Linked DNA regions of Homo sapiens: region 1 is linked to region 2. The links are contacts of gene promoters, found by promoter capture Hi-C in human tissues and cell types (Jung and others, 2019). All regions are on one chromosome and are shown on one strand. The core of a region is centred on a gene start or on the middle of the fragment in contact, and the rest is flanking DNA. Distances in the headings are between cores, read along the strand shown. Region 1 has its middle 42 kb from the start of DSC1. Region 2 holds the start of DSG4 (desmoglein 4).

Region 1 (2,700 bases), core at 57-2,556, 170 kb after region 2:
CAAGGCCACCATTCAGCATTTCTTCAGTCTACTGCTTTGTTTTATAAAGCAATGTGTAAAAAGCACCACGTATTCTACCTTTATGAAATGGTGTGATGGAGGCTGGATTGAAGGCTTTCCTTTTGGCTTGAGAAACTTTTTTTGAATATTAGAGTAATTTTTTTAAATGTATTTTAATATTTATTTATTTGTTTGTTTTTAGATAGGGTGTCACTATGTTGTCTAGGCTGGTCTTGAACTCCTGGGCTCGAGCCATTCTCCAGCCTCAGACTTCTGAGCAGCTGTGATTACAGGCACGTGCCATTGTACCTGGTGAGACATGTTTTATAGTTCCTCTTAACCCTATAGCACTGACCTTCCAGGACAATTCCCCTGTTTCCCTTGCAGAGAGGAGAGTGTCTCCGGAGACAGGTAGATAATAGATGTGGCCAAAGATGTGCAATAGTGGGAGAAGACACAGGTGGGCAGAAGGTGATGAAACCTCTTTTGCTGAAGTCAATATTTGTTTGGAAAAAGAGACGTCGACAAAGGTGCTTTTCATTTTAACCTGTTACATGGCTGCAGTGACCATGTCCATGTATTCTAACAAAGAGTTCCAGCAGAGAAGAATGCCAGACAGTGTTAGGAAGCCTCTGCATATTCTAGTGGATGTCAGTGGTTTCTAAATGAACCTCCCTAACCTGTTATGTTACTATTCTTGTTGGAACTCATTGTCCTTAGATAAAAGCCCAATTTTTAAGTACTACTAGCATAACTCTGTACAAGCTGGATCTTCTTTAGTTCTTTATTCTTATCTCCTGGTACTCTCCACCTTGAACTCCATGCTGGCTTCATGCCAAATGAACCTTCTCTCAGTTTCTTAAATATACCATTGTCTCTCTCCTGTATACCTTCATGGATGCTGTTTCCTCTTTTGGAAACACTCTCTATCCTTTCCGCCACTCCAATCTCCCCCTTTACTTGGTAATCCTTATCCTTCAGAGAATAGCTTAAAGGTCATTCCCACCAGCGAACCTTCCCTACCTGCAACCATGAAGTGTGGGTCTGGGGTTCCTGGTGTGTGCTCCCAGGGCACATTCCCCTTTCCCTGCCCTGGCGCTCCTCACACATGGCAGTGTGTTTACTTATCTGTCTGCACCACAAGTGCCCTGTTCCTGAGGGCAGAGGTCACAACTCTCCTATTCGTTATTGTATCCCCTCTCCTGTTTATCATTGTATCAGGCCTAACACAGTGCCTGGCACACAGCAGGGCAGGCTTTCTACAAATATTTGTTGAATGAGAAAATATATGCATAAAAGTATTATTTTCCAATTTGTGAAGCCAGCTTCTCAGAAAGAAAATGGAGTTTATGAGCAGAGCTTTCCAGTAAATTTGTATTTAGTCATAATACTACAAACAAGCATATCATTATTTCTTTATTTCTTGGTTTTGAATGGTAATTATTTTTGCAAGTTCTGAGTATTTGCACCAATTTATGAAATACAAGCAGTAATGAAATACAAGCAATTTATGAAACACAAGCAATATTAAACATGACAGTAGATGGCTCCTGTTTATAGGTGATGCCGGTAACATTCTAGAAATAAATGGCTTGATTGGAAACTTCTGTTTAAAAAAAATGTGGGAAGTGAAGGGAATGAGTTGGCCTTTAACAAAGAGAAAGAGAATACGATCATTTTCTAAATATAATAAATAGAATATCATATTTAATCTATGTATGCTTACATGTAGAAATAATTTTTACGACATCATGAAACTGGTAAAATATGAGGCAGATAAACTTAGGGGAAGTGATTTTTCTGGTTATGAAATACACTTTTCCCCAAGGTACTCATAATTTTAGTTATTTGTAAATAATTTTACTTCATAAAAGCATATTTCTAAGTGAATGTTTCTGAAATATTAAGTTCTTGCAATATCTGAGGTTTGTTAAGCAGGTATTTAGTTAAGCAGGTATTTAGTTAAGTTAAGCAGGTATTTAGTTAAGTTAAGCAGGTATTTAGTTAAGTTAAGCAGGTATTTAGTCTCATTTCTGTCTTACAACTCAGCAACCAGAGGTGTTCAGTGCATCAGAAAGGAGGAATATAAGCATGTTCGATAGAGTGATTCTGTCCAAGGTGTTTGCATACTCATTTTATCCTTTCAGCAACCCCGCACAGGGTGCTCTGCTTATTTTCCGCGTTATAGAAAAAAACATCAAAATGCAGAGCAGGTAAGCAGCTTGCTCAAGACCACCGAGTGAGTTTGAGGCCATCCTTATGAAAGAAGAGAAAGGAAGAAAAAAAAAAAACAGTTAAGGCAAGTCCTCAGCAGAGGATTTAAACAGAGAAACAGCCTGGAAAATCAAGCTGCAGCTGCACAGATAAGGGAGCAAAGCTCAACATAGAAACACCTTTATTCTTTGTGTAATCAGCGGGCGCCTAGGAAAAAGTTTCTTTTCCTTTCATGGACCTGTACATGGTGGGCTCCCTGGGAACTTACATGGGGCGGGGGGCTTGCCTAAAACATGCCTACAGTTGCTCAGACAACAGAAGTGTTACTCCCTGTGCTTGCGTAAGACACGCCCGCAGCTGCACAGAAAAGGGCAGTTACACAAGCAGCTATATAGACAGGGGAAGTTACACAGCTATACAGATAAAGAAAGTTTCTTATACAAACTTTTGCATTCAACTGTAAAAATGGAAACCCTCTTGGGACCC
Region 2 (2,700 bases), core at 130-2,629:
TCTCCTAAACTCAGAGGATGCAATATTCTACCACTGTTGTCACGTTCCCTTTTGAGCTTGGGGTTGTGTGCCCTTTGGCAGTGTTCGGCTCCCGCACTGCTCTTGAAGTTTAGAAATGTGAATTCCAGAAGAGTAGCTCTCACTGTGCCTCTTGGACAATGACGTGCTCCCATCTCTCCCAGCCCTAGCTACTCTCTGTCTCTTACAACTGATGTTCAGAGGAGTCTGGTATAATTGCCACTTGCCTAAGAATAGGATGGGAATCACTTTCTAAGCTTAGGTTGTAGCGCTAACCTGGATACTCCTGGGAGATTGAAGTGTGGCCAACTATAATGCATTTGTCTTAATTTACTTTGAAAAATTTGTACAGTTCCTAATAATCCTGTCCTCTTACCCTCCCAGAATTGGCAATAGTTTGTTGATTGGCCAACTGGAACTTTGTTCTTCTTTGGAGTTGGAATTATCTCTTTCTAGGGTAGGATATTTGCTATGCATGCTGCCTGTCTGGAAATCATGTCACACCTTGGGCACCCAAAGGTTAGAGGAAAGAAATATAATATCCAAGATGCCATGTTTACTGTAAAGAAATAAGTCATTTAAATATTTCTTTGCTGGTCTGTAGGAATGCATTCATAATTCCAGAAAAGTTTTGTCTTGATGGCTGGGCTTCATTTTTCTTTAGCAATATCTGACTGGAAAAAGTTCTCATGACTTTAGTATGTCATCATTAGTTGCAATGTAATTTCAACATGGCTATCATTCCTCCACTTTGAAAGAAACTCATAGGGAAATAACTATTGAAAAGAAATGGGTTTGATTAACTTCCCTTCAAATTTAGAACCCATTTGCACTGGCAGTTTTCACAGCAATCTATCTGATTTATTTATATGATCATAGAATATGAATTTTATTTCCAATTTAAAATTTTAGAATAGTCCTAACACTCAAAGTGAAGTAGATTATGTCTCTGAGGGCATATAAATTTAATTCAGCCAGATTCTCACCCCGCTTCTCTATGGCATTTTGTTCCTCAAGGCGGAGAGAGTTGTTTGAAATTAACAGAGGCTGGACTTCTAGAACTCTCTTTGCAGGAAGGAGATTAAAAATGGAATAAATCCCATGTAGAAAGCCCGACAGTTGACAGAGACAAGACCTTGAGGCTGCATTTCCTTCCCACCTCTTTAAATTCTACTTACCATTAGAATGATCAAAAGGCAAATGTTTCTGAAGAAGAGCCAATCCATTCCTTTGGGTTTCTCTTGCACGCAAATCCTGTGAGATTCAATTTGAGCCCTCGTCTTCTCAGTTCCGAATTCTGCTCTACAGAAAGATATGCTTTGAGACACCCTTTTAGGAGGGCATGGGTGATAACTGTGGTGATCTCTGGGCAGAGAGATGAAGATATTCTATAATGACTGTTTCCCCACCCCAAACTCCCAGGCTGGTCTGGAAGACTGGCATTGTTTGGGCTCTGGGTAAGAATTTAGACACACCTTGATTCTTATTGCAATGAAACCCTTTGTTGGACACCAAAGAAAAACCTTACAGAGCGAGGACAAGATTTACAGGGAAGATAGCCAGTGAATAATAAATTACTCACAACATAAAAAATAATTAAAATGCTAGGGCCTATCATCATGCTGAATAAAATTAGAAGGCTTCTTCTTACTGCCAACATTGTAAAAGCAAAATTACATATACTGACAACACATACACACACATGTCCACTGCAGAACCCACTTCAAGGAATGATACTTTTAGCAGAGGCCATTGTTGAAAGTCATCAGGACTCAAGTATGGTATAGGAAGAAAGATAGAATAATGACGCTCATTTCAATTCAGTTGAGTCCTGCTTCTCTCTTTAAAATGTCTTGTGGTTGAACCGCACTCTCAATTTTAAAGATTTTCTGAAATAACAAAGTTAAGATGAAGGAACTCTGATTTAACTAGTACCAGTATGTTTGTTTCCATACTTTGGCATTTTCTTTCTTGATTATTCAGTCAAACCTCTACAATATGATATTTACAAAATCATTTTAAAGTAACTACAATACAACATTCTCACTTCTCATAGTATTACCACTGATAAAAAGTACATAATGTGGGTGAGGAACACATTTTACACCACCACAAATATTTATTAAGGAGAAACTGAAGTTGGAAACGTGAGAATTTAATGAAAAAAAGCCCAGAGTGGGATCTGGATATTTTTGAATATTATTTCCCTTTTTCGTGTCTCCCTTTTCCTTTGTTAGTATGGGTTTGAAACAGGGTATAGAGTGTCCTGATGCAAACATTGCAGGCTGGCAGCAACATCAATAAACTTAAAAGAAAATGCAGTTAACTGTTCTCTGATTGATAGATAATACATGTTGGTTGGAGAATTTCAAAGGGAGACTGCCTCCTGTCTTCACTATCCCATCACTGTAATTCAGAAACAAGGTTGACCCTGGTAATAGAATGTATTCTAAGTATTGCTTAGTTTCTTGAGAAAAGTAGTTTTAGTATTTTTGGAAGCCAGATAAAGTAATTTACTTTTGCATTATTTCATGTCATGTTGAATTAGATAATTTAATTTGCCTAAGAGAATTAATGAAACAACTCCAGGTCTTTAAGTGACATTGCTTTTTACAAGGGAAAAACAACATTCTTCTCTATTGTTGTGTTTGAAGGAGATATTTCACAAAGGTCTCTATCTTT

Evidence for each region. The method cuts DNA at HindIII sites, captures the fragments that hold promoters and counts their contacts. A contact is called where the count stands out against the background at its distance.
Region 1: a fragment that was not itself captured here is called in contact with the fragment with the promoter of DSG4 in region 2 in 3 of the 25 tissues and cell types used here (mesenchymal stem cells, mesendoderm cells and thymus).

Annotation. Positions count from the first base shown.
Region 1 is chr18:31,203,445-31,206,144 of GRCh38, reverse strand. No RefSeq gene overlaps it. Among named protein-coding and RNA genes, the nearest start is that of DSC1, 42 kb to the right of the region's middle. RefSeq lists an enhancer at 1-18. The HindIII fragment of the contact is 5,385 bases long and covers 1-2,700 here.
Region 2 is chr18:31,375,456-31,378,155 of GRCh38, reverse strand. DSG4 (desmoglein 4) reads right to left here and starts at 1,379. Exons shown (of 16, transcript NM_177986.5): 1 at 1,197-1,379. The coding sequence starts at 1,244. All of the region lies in intron 1 of DSG1-AS1 (DSG1 antisense RNA 1), which reads left to right. The HindIII fragment of the contact is 6,705 bases long and covers 1-2,700 here.